Regions from separate parts of the Homo sapiens genome. Here region 2 is linked to region 1. Evidence: promoter capture Hi-C in 16 types of primary human blood cells and fetal thymus (Javierre and others, 2016). All regions are on one chromosome and are shown on one strand. Each heading gives the region's core, a stretch centred on a gene start or on the middle of the fragment in contact. The rest is flanking DNA. Distances are from core to core; before and after follow the strand shown. Region 1 holds the start of ADCY7 (adenylate cyclase 7). Region 2 overlaps CNEP1R1 (CTD nuclear envelope phosphatase 1 regulatory subunit 1).

What was found. The method cuts DNA at HindIII sites, captures the fragments that hold promoters and counts their contacts. A CHiCAGO score of 5 or more calls a contact.
Region 2: a contact is called between a fragment that was not itself captured here and the fragment with the promoter of ADCY7 in region 1, in 1 of 17 cell types (M1 macrophages). The highest score is 7.9, in M1 macrophages.

What each region holds. Positions count from the first base shown.
Region 1 is chr16:50,264,065-50,269,734 of GRCh38, reverse strand. It overlaps ADCY7 (adenylate cyclase 7), which reads right to left and starts at 3,184. Exons shown (of 26, transcript NM_001114.5): 1 at 3,055-3,184. RefSeq lists enhancers at 3,412-3,501, 3,447-4,040, 5,108-5,287. The HindIII fragment of the contact is 14,845 bases long and covers 1-3,388 here.
Region 2 is chr16:50,029,645-50,035,314 of GRCh38, reverse strand. It overlaps CNEP1R1 (CTD nuclear envelope phosphatase 1 regulatory subunit 1), which reads right to left. Exons shown (of 6, transcript NM_001281789.2): 3 at 5,517-5,590; 4 at 1,809-1,918; 5 at 1,159-1,213. Among named protein-coding and RNA genes, the nearest start is that of CNEP1R1, 7.3 kb to the right of the region's middle. The HindIII fragment of the contact is 1,910 bases long and covers 2,614-4,523 here.

The DNA of each region.
Region 1 (5,670 bases), core at 1,935-4,434:
GAGAGAGGATGCTGTGTCACCTCAGTATGAACAAGTCCACATCCTCTTCCTCCAGGACAGCAGGAGGGAGGCAAGGAGCGGTGCTGAGGGTCAGGCCACCCAGCCACCTCTGTGACCCTTGCAATGACAGGGAGTGGACAAACCACCTACCTCCTGGCTAAGGCATGACCCAACCACACATCCAGGAAAGCACGTGAGACAGCCCACCCTGGCCCAGCCACGCAGAAGGCCTCGTCCTACCTCTTCTCTCCCGCAGTGGGCCCAGCGAAGTCCAGGCACAGGGCAGGGTAGGGGAGGCCCTCACAGGAGCCCAATTCCTCATCTTCCCAGTAAGGACCACCCCCACGAATCCCTCAGCACCAACCAGAGCCCCTGTTCTCAGCTTTGCCCCATCTGATCTCGCCAAAGACACAGTGTGCTGGCCCTGACTCCAGGCTCAAATGTGGCAGCAGACCACACTGTGGTGGGCACAACTGGATGCCTGAGGACCGATCTGCTGGGTTATTCAGGATAGACAGCCCCTCTGGGCCCTGTCTCCTCTGTAAACTGGAGGTGAACGGCACCTACCATATGGAGCGGTGGAGGAGGTGGGGAATGGGTCAAATCAGTAGCTATAAATTGTAGAGTGGGGTGCATGTCCCCAGTGCAACCATCGAGTCGGACTTTTGTCTCTTTTGAAAAATTTATTTATTTTGAGACAGGGTCTCATTCCGTCACCCAGGCTGGATGGAGTGCAGTGGCACAGTCATGGCTCACTACAGCCTCCAACTCCTGGGCTCAAAGGATCCTCCTGCCTTAGCCTCCCAAGTAGCTGGGACTACAGGCACACGCCACCACACCCAGCTAATTTTTGTATTTTTTGTAGAGACGGGGTTTCGCCATGTTGCCCAGGCTGGTCTCGAACCCCTGGGCTCAAGTGATCCGCCCACCTTGGCCTCCCAAAGTGCTGGGATCTTTTCTCCTTTTGAGACTCTCCTGTGGCCTGTCCAGAGGCCACACTCCAGCCCAATTTCTACTTCCTGAGCTCTCCCTACACCAACCTCCATGCCCTCAAGCAAACCTCCCAGACCTACTCCTGGCAAAGATGTTCTGCAATACCACCTTCACCCTCATCACCCGGAAAACAGCTGCTAGTAAACAGCTGCTTCTTTCATGAAAACAGCACTAGAAGGCTGGGCGTCGGGCTCATGCTTGTAATCCCAGCACTTTAGAAGGCTGAGGCGGTAAGATTGCCTGAGCTCATGAGTTCAAGGTTGCAGTGAGCTATGACCACTCCACTGCACTCCAGCATGGGTGACAGAGTGAGATCCTGTCTTAAAAAAAGAAAAGAGGCTGGGGGTGGTGGCTCACACCTATAATCCCAGCACTTTGGGAGGTCGAGGTGGATGGATCATTTGAGGTCAGGAGTTTGAGACCAGCCTGGCCACCATGGTGAAACCCCGTCTTTACTTTACTAAAAATACAAAAATTAGCCAGGTGTAGTGGTGTGGTAACTGTAGTCCCAGCTACTCAGGAGGCTGAGGGAGGAGGACGGCTTAAGCCCAGGAGGCAAAGGTTACAGTGACCCAAGAGGGTCACTACTGCACTCCAGCCTGGGCAACAGACAGAGACTCCATCTCAAAAAATAATAATAAATAAAAATAAGAAAGAAAGAAAATACCACCGGAGACGCTACCTCCACAAAGCTCACACCTGCCCTTCTGAGGGCCACAGAATCTGGAACAATCTGAGAGCCTCCCCTCCCCCACACTCTGCACCAGGAGCTGCAGGTAAACCTTGGGAACCCAGGGCCTCTGGAGGTGGGAAGACAGACAACTGGGTGGGAAGCGAAGGCTGTGCAGCAAACGCCTTCCTGAGCTGCAGCCCCCTCAGCCTCCTGCACTTCCTGCAGGGCTGGCACTTGGCACTTCCTCTCAAATTGGCTGGCTTGTCACTTTTATGTCTCCTTTGGCCTCGTCTAAGACAATAATACAGTCATGATGTCACAATGGCAATGTCCTATTTACAGATTTTTTTTTCCCCAAGACAAATACTTAGATTTTAAACATGTCCTTCCACACACAGGCTAGAACCCCCTGTGATTCCCTGGGCAGCCCGGTCCTCACTCCGAGAAACACTGGTGTTGAGTCCACCCCTCACAGCCTCCATCTGCAAGATGGTGATGCTAGTGAAGGCCCACGGTCACATAGCCCTTCCAGACACATCCAGCCCACACTGGCTGCCCGTCCAGGCCTTGGACCCAGGGCCCCTGTCGTAGGTGGCTCGGCCTGGCCCCTACCTCCAGGCCCTTGGCTTCCCCCTCCCGGCCCTCCCTTCTCCTCTCCAGCAATGGCTGTCCAGGGAGGAAGCCCCCAGCCACAGATGTCCCTGCCCTTGACCCTGATGTGATGACACAGAGAAGAGGCAACTGCCTCACCCTCTGTACATACATGTTTAGATGAATGCATAGAAAGCTCCAGAAAGACCCGCTCCAGAAAGACCCACTCCAGATGGCCCATGCGGTCCCTGGGGGATAGAGGAGAGGCATTGCAGGGAAAGGGAAACCAGTCTGCTTTTTGGAGGCATCTTGGTTTCCTGACCCTCAGGCATGCACTCCTTTCAGAGGTTTTGTTTGTTTTTTGTTTTATAATTTCATAAAATTAGTTGAATTGGCCTTCCCTTGCCAATGTTTCCTTTCATTGAGAAAAGTCATGTGTGCTTGTAAATGTAAAATTACACCCTCGAGAAGGAGTGTGGACATTTGAGAGTCTGTGGTTCCTAGAATTCCAGATGGAACGGGCCACATGTACAACATTGTGGTCACAACCGCACTTTCTTGTCAGGCTGGGAAAAGCCAGTGACAAGTCGCCTCTGGTCCCCTGTTGAAGGGCCGCCTCTCCCAGCCATCTGCCCAGTAGGCTCACGGAGCCTCCTACTCCCCCAGCCCAGACCCTGCCCAGTGCACTCCCAGGCCAGGCTGCCGGGTGAGCTGCTTCCCACCCACTGTCCAGCCCCGTCCCCTGGGGCTCAAGCCACTAGGACTGGTGACACTCCATCCCCACACCCCACTTTTACCTGGCTCTCCTCCCCGGCCCCAGCAGCCGGCCAGGGTCTGCAGGGAGGTGGCCCGGCCCCCGCCTGCCCTTCCTCAGACGCGCCCAGGCTCACCCATCCGAAGGCTCCTTCCACGCTACCTAATGAGAGTGAGTCACATCTGGGACCCACCACTTCCTGCTCCGGCAGCGGCAGCAGCGGCGGCGGCGGCAGCAAGGCTAAGGCACAGCCCACAGCCCAGCCTCTCGGGGTGTGCAGGGCCCCCTCCCCCAGCCACAGTGCTGCTCTCCGCAGCCTGGGAGCTGCCAGGCCTGGGAGCTGTCGGGCTCCAATGACTTCATGGAAATTTGAAGCTTGAAGCTGGAACAATTTTGAAAAAATAATAATAAAACAAGCACCAAAAACCTCCATTAGAAGCCCCAAGACAACTGTTCAAAGTGGGGAGCAAATGCATCCTTAGTGAGCAATTAGCAATTAGCGGCCTGGCCTGAGCCTCCTGTGGGCTCTGACGCTCACAGACAGGCCCCCCGCGCCTTCCTGGGACTCAATTTCCCTATCTATGTAGTAAGGTGGCCCCGTCCACCTCTGAGAGGGGCCCAGGAGAGGTCAAAGATCTTCCAGCCCAGCCCACTGCCTCTCCATCTCACCTACGCTCCCATGCTGGGAGCAGGGCAGGGGCAGGCCCATCCTTGGGGCTCCTATTCCAAAATCAGAGTCCCTGGAGAGCCCCCAACATCCCTGGGCACCATGAGGCTGGGAATCAAACCCCAGCACCCCTTCTGCTATGCCAGGCCTCAGTTTCCCCACTGGGATCATGGGGCGCTCAGTGGCGAGGGAGCAGATCAGGAGAGGCTAAGAGGAGAGAGTGGAGACTCCCAAAACAGAGGGGGAGGCCTCCAGCCCGCTGGCCACAGCAGCACCTGGTCCTCAGGGAGCCCTTCTGAGCATGTGACTGGCATCCTGGGATTACGAGCTCCTCAAAGCAATGGTGTACCTCCTCCACCTCCCACATCCAGGGTCAGACACCCCTCTTCTGGTCTTCTAACCCCTGCACCTTCCTCCATCACAGCACCTCTGTGCTGTGACCACTGGTTGCTGGTCTGTCTTTCCTAGGTTATATCCTTGAGGAGGGCAGAGATGGGAGGGCAGCTGTAATATCAACAGCTGTGTCCCCAGCGTCCAGCCCCAGCTGGTCACAGAGTAGACATCCCACACATACTGATCAGGAGGAACTGAACATGTTAGGTGCTGTCTCTGTGCCAGGCCCCATGCAGGGAACTAGCAGGTGATCTAAGGTCTGCCATCTGGTGGAGACAGGCATAGGACTCACACAGGGTTCCAGGCTGCTCCAGAGGCCACAGGAGGGAGTGGGAGACCTCAGGGGATCCTCCCCATCAGGGTCGCCCTCCTATCAGCAAATGTCTCCCTAGCAAATGTCCCAGAGCAGAGAAGGAACAGACATCATCATCATCAAAAGAGGGGAAAGACAAGCCACTGACTAGGAGAAAGTCACATCCTATATGACTGACAAAAGACTCCTCCCTAGCATATATAAAGATCTCCCAGGCTTGGCATGGTGGCTCATGCCTGTAATCCCAGCACTTTGGGAGGCTAAGGTGGGCGGATCACCTGATGTCAGGAGTTTGAAACCAGCCTGGCTAACATGGCAAAATCCCGTTTCTACTAAAAGCACAAAAATTAGCCAGGCGTGGTGGCATGAGCCTGTAATCCCAGCTACTTGGGAGGCTGAGGCAGGAGAATCACTTGAACCTGGGAGGCAGAGGTTGCAGTGAGCCGAGATCACACCACTGCACTCCAGCCTGGGCAACAGAGTGAGACTCTGTCTCAGAAAAAAAAAAAAAAAAAAAGACCTCCCACAAACCAATAAGAAAAAGACAAATGGCCCAATTAAAAGATGAACAAGAGACTTACACAGGTACTTCAACAAAGAGGATGCCAAAATGACCAATAAGCACATGAAAAAGATACTCAACATCATTAGCCACCAGCAAATTAAAACCATATAGAGATTCCACTGTACCACTAGAATGGCTAAAATTAAAATGAAAATACCAAGTGTTGACAAGGAGGAGAAGCAGCTCTTCACTCTCATGTACTGCTAGTGGGAATGTAAAATGGAGCCACCATGATGAAAACTGCCTGGCAGTGTGGACAAAAGCAAACCATATGCTTCCCCAATGACTCAGCAATTCAATCTCAGGTATTTACCCAAAAGAAATGAGTACATGTGTCCACAAATGACTTCTATCCAAGTGTTCAGAGAAGCTTTCATCCTAACAGTCAAACTGCAAACCCAAACATCCTGCAATGAGTAAATGGATAAACAAATTTTCATATATTCACACAACAGAAAATTACTCAGCAGTAAAAAGGAACAGATCACTGCTAACACACAACATGAATGAATATCCAAGATGGCAAGGACAGTGAAAGACCCACCCACAAAAGACACATTCAGCACGTTTCCATTTATATGAAACTTCAGAAATGATGAAACTAATCTACAGTGACAGACAGCAAGACAGCGGTTGCCTCTAGGGAGGCCGCTGATTGGAAAGGGGCACACAGGAAACTTCTGGGGGCTGAGGAGGTTCTAAATCTCCCTGTGGGTGCTGG
Region 2 (5,670 bases), core at 2,319-4,818, 230 kb after region 1:
TTCTCTATAGTCAAGATTAAACAATTAATAGTTATGCTTTCAGAGCTTCCTTTGTGTGGAGCTTCCTTCTGAGCTCTTTATTTTAAAATACTACATACATCTTTTTTTCTCCTCTTTTCATTTTTTGTAGAGACGGTGTCTTGCTATGTTGCCCAGGTTCATCTCAAACTCCTGGACTCAAGCAATCCTCCTGCCTTGGCCTCCCAAAGTGCTGGGATTACAGGTGTGAACCACCATGCCTGGCCTCTTTATTCTAATTTCTGTAATGAATAGGTATTACTTGTTTAATGACTTTTTAAATTGAAGGCTAAGACACTTTTATAAATAAAATAAGCAAATCAAAATAGAAGCTACCTATCAAAATTGTGAGACACCCTTATTACACACTGGTACATGATAGTTTTTAATTTACTTAAAGACAGGGTCTCACTGTCGTCCAGGCTAGACTGCAGTGGTATGATCACAGCTCACTGCAGCCTCAAATTCCTGGGCTCAAGCAATCCTCCTGCCTCAGCCTCCCAAGCAGCTGGGACTACAGGTGTGCACCACCTGCCTGGCTAATTTTTACATTTTTTTGTAGAGATGGGGTCTTGCTAATGTTGCCCAGGCTGGTCTCAAACTCCTGGACTCAAGAGATCCTCCTGCCTCAGCTTCCCAAAATGCTGGGATTAGAGGCATGAGCCACCATGCCCAGTCTCCCATCATCTACTTTTAAAAACACAATAGGTTCATATGTCCATAGTCCACAAATTAATCTATGACTCTATATTTACAAATAACATATATAGCATATCACTTGATAAATAACAGTAGTTTATAAAACCAATATCCGCTGAGCCATTTTTGGTCAATAACAAACAACCACTGTACTTCACTGAATCTAAGATGCATCAGTTATAAGATGCATCATGATTTTATGTCATTAAGAAAGATTAAATTGTCAACTCTCCCAATTTGTCAGATCTCATTGACTGTAAGATGGATCTCAATGCCAAAGATGTTAAATGTAAAAGTACCTTAGAATCAATGCTCTAAGTATATTCTCACTATTCATTCCACAGAGAAAATTTATTGCTAATAAAATGTCTACCTTTCTAAAGCCAAAAATTTCAGTGTTTTCATGCAGGTCTATAATTTTCTAACCAAAAAAATACTTACATCATCACAAGACATATTGTATTCTGCTAATACCGTTCGACATCGAGCAGCTATACTGAATACATGTGGTCAAAGGAAAATTTCTCATTTCAAGAGTATGCTTTTAGGCCGGGTGCGGTGGCTCAAGCCTGTAATCCCAGCACTTTGGGAGGCCGAGGCGGTCGGATCACAAGGTCAGGAGATCGAGACCATCCTGGCTAATCCGAGATCGCGCCACTGCACTCCAGCCTGGGCGACAGAGCAAGACTCTGTCTCAAAAAAAAAACACAAAGCGTACTCTTTTTTTTTTTTTTGAGACGCAGTCTTGCTCTGTCGCCCAGGCTGGAGTGCAGTGGCGTGATTTCAGCTCACTGCAACCTCTGCCTCCCGGGTTCAAGCGATTCTCCCACCTCAGCCTCCCGAGTAGCTGGGACTACAGGCACAGACCACCACACCTGGCTAATTTTTTGTATTTTAGTAGAGATGGGGTTTCACCATGTTGCCCAGGCTGGTCTCAAACTCCTGAGCTCAGGAAATCCACCCACCTCAGCCTCCCAAAGTGCTGGGATTACAGGCGTGAGCCACCACGCCCGGCAAGAGTAAGCTTTTAACCATTACCTAGATCAACAAAGCACTTCAGAGAATGGAATTTAATCCTTGGTAAAGGATACATTGATGGTGCAACTACTCTCTTGTGTATTCCAGCAAAGAACAAGCCTATTAGAGTGATACAGCTAATGGTGAAAAATGGGTGATTCCATAATGATGTGAAGAAGGACACCTGTAAAAGAAGAGATGAAAATATAAAAATGTTAAAAATCTTAGGATGGCTGATTCCTACCTCCCCACTTGTACATAAATATATATAATATTTTTTATCATATAAACCATGAGGATTTGAAGACTTCTAATAATCTTAGTTCTCTGTATTGCTGCGTTGTAAAAATAAAAATGTATAGGCTATCTTCTATAAAGCAAGATAAATATAGCAGTATTCCCTCCATTCATTTCAAATACTTGAACTATTACAAATTCATTCCTATAATCAAAAAACAACCCTATCAAAAATATTTACTGAACTCTGCATTGAATGAGTGAAGATGAGGCCTCTGGTCTCAATGAAAACACAAATCAAACTTGATTTAGTTACCTTCCCTGTTTTTTTTTTTTTTGAGACAGAGTTTCACTCTTGTCACCCAGGCTGGAGTGCAATGACACATTCTCAGGTCACTGCAACCTCCACCTCCAGGATTCAAGCAATTCTCCTGCCTCACCCTCCCAAGTAGCTGGGATTACAGGCGCCCACCACCACACCCGGCTAATTTTTGTACTTTTAGTAGAGACGGGGTTTCACTATGTTGGCCAGGCTGGTCTTGAACTCTTGACCTCAGGTGATCTGCCCGCCTCGGCCTCCCAAAGTGCTGGGATTACAGGCGTGAACCACCACGCTCAGCCTACCTTTACTGTTAAAAAGCTTCCTTAAAAGAGTTGAGCAAACTCTGCCATTCATAACCTGATCCCAGTCTAATTTTCATCTCCTGCCATATTTCCACACATATGCTGCCTTGTTCACCTCTCTCCCTCCACCTGGCTAACTCTTACATATCCTCATAACACTCAATTCCAGCATCACCCCTTCCTCCCTGCAGAGGCAAAAAACAAATTTGGTTTTGAAGCTACTGAGATCTAAATGACCACAGGACATTCAAGTAGGGAAAAACGATTAGTAGCTATCCATAAAGAACTAGAACGAAGGAGAAAGAAAGGGCTGATTTCAGATCTGGACATATCAAATGATAGCAGAAAACAGGACAATCCACAAGTCTAAGAATATGTAGAGGGACAAGGGTCCAGGATCCATGACTGGAATAAGAATAGGCACCGAAATGGAAACGTTGACTGGAGACACAGAGAAGACAAGCATTTAGAGCCTGTGTAGAAAGAAATCAAGTGGATTAGTAACTAGATGGGAGCAAGAGAATCAAGTTAAGCACATCCCCACTCCACTCTCACAGCAGGAGACGCGCAGGCACGTGTTTCAAGACAGAAGCACCAGGTAGATGGCTCAGCATGGTACTGGTTACAGAAGTTTGTCAGATGAAGAAATGAGAGGCTGAAAATACCAGGAAAGAAGCTCCCAGAAAGATGATGACCCAAGGAAAAGTTAATATTCCAGAAGAACGTCTTCTTCAAACCTCCGAGGAGTTTCTCATAAGCCAGCTCTGTTGTGTGTGGCCTGCACCAGGTTAGCATATACAGTGCTTTATGTCTTCATTTTAATTAGGCCATCAGTTTCAGCCTTCCTCCCTCCATGGCAACACTCCAATGCATTGAAACAGCAGTTCTCTCCAGGCCAGGCAGTCAGGTACTTCCTGTCTGCCATATTCTTTCTCTCCCTAGGTTCTTCTACCTAGCCACTGCTCCTGAGTTTGCAACTCTTGCTACAGATACAATTGCTGGTTAAAACTCCTGTCAGGTTTGGGGTTATTAAATACTGAAATATAAAGAGCCAACCCTTAGGCGAATAGTTATATTCTCACCTAATTTAGAAAATTATATTAACTACATAGTTTTGGGCCTATTTCAAATTACATTTAATTCTGTGTTTTATTAAGATCTCAACTAGCTGAGATCAGCTTATATTTTTCCCAATTAGAAGTCAGACTCATTTCCCAAGATGGATCTTTTTCAATCTTCTTGCCAGCCTCTTTCCACTCTTCCCCTAAAGATGACTACCAAGTGCAGCCTTAAGATCAGATTTTTATAAATGAACACACAAGAGAGTTTCCTGTCTGCCATAAAAATCCTCTATTAACATAAAATTCCATCACCAATCTCCCCTTGCTTCCTATCCTTTTAAATATCTCCACCTCAGCAGATAAAGTTAGGGAGACTATATGCGAAATAAACTTCTCTGGCTGTCTGAATTGCCATGGAGACTGATGACAAAAGCCTTCTCTTAGGCTTTTCTTCTGTAAAACCTAAAAGGTACAAATAGAGCTACTGAAAGTAGTCTACTTAATTGCAGCTTAAAGCGGGGAGGGGATTTTTAAGATTTGTGAAAATTACATCATTACTCCCTAAATAAAACTGCACTGGGGGAAAGAAACTTCACTAAAAAATTGGAGACTAACTACTTCTCTAATAAAAAAAAGCCCTGAGTTTGAAATTAAAGCACAAATTAGTAGAAAGAGGTGGAAATTTGAGAAACATGCTATCAGCTTTCATCAAAGGATGCTTCAAGGAATAACATTATGAAATCAGTTATTGCATTTGGTATAGGGATATTCTTGCACAGTGCCCAGTGGGAGATCCCTCAGTGTTTCCTGTATTAAACTTCAGGCAAGAAATTTTTTTTCAGAGATAAATGTTGGGAAAGAAAAGCTTTGCTAGCCCAAGGAATTGATATATGTGTTATCTTACAGGCAATGAAAATCACAGAATTAACTGTGACTTCACTGATTAGGTAACTCAGAGACTAATTTATAATCCAATTCTGGCAAGTGTGTTGGGAAACATGGCCTATACATCAGTGAGCTGGTTTCCTTTCTGGTTTTGACCTCATGGTCCAACTTGTTTTTATCTAGTCCTGACTTTTTATTATATGTGTATTTTGCTATTTTATCATGTGTGTTTCCTGTAAAGTCATCTCCAGTGTTTTATGGGATGAAGAAAGGTATTAACAGAGATAACTCATAGAAGAAAATGTTATTTTACAATTTTTTTCTCTCCCTCTTTTTTTCTGAGACAGGGTCTAGCTCTGTCACACAGGCTGGAGTGTAGTGGCACAATCATAGCTCACTGCAGCCTCGATCTCCTGAGCTCAAGTGATCCTCCCACCTCAGCCTCCCAAGTAGCTGGGTACAGCATGCTACACTTGGCTGATTTTTAAATTTTTTGTAGAGATGGGGTCTTGCTATATGACATTGCCCAGGCTGGTCTTGAACTCCTCCCTTGGCCTCCCAAAGTGTTGGGATTCCAGGTATGAGCCACCATGCCTGGCCTATTTTAGAACTTTTAAAAGCTGGCACTGATGACACTCAATGAACAAAGCAGAATGAAGATAATACTCACACTGAAGTAAAAATGAGAGATATAAAAAAAATGTAAAAATGATAAATTCAGAAGTGAATGACAAATAACAAATAAATGTCTAAGAAATAATAGCATCTCTTAGACCTTTTCCCTGTAGACATACTTAATTCACAATAGCCAGCCAAAATCTTCCTTGAGCAAATTAATAAAAGGCATATTTTTAATATGACAATATCACTAGTAGTAGTTAATAGGTAGTGTTTGAATACTTTATCATTAACAAAGCACTACAATATCCATTATCTCATTTAATTATGCTAATGATTTTAAAACAAAACTTCTACCTTTTGTGTCTCAGGGTCTATTAACCAGTTCCAGGCACCAGTAGCTGTACAGACAGATACCACTATAAGAAGCACTGATGAAAGATAAACACGAAATTAGTAAGCAAATACATACTTAATATGTGATACTATCACCACCAGTTCCTACTAAATG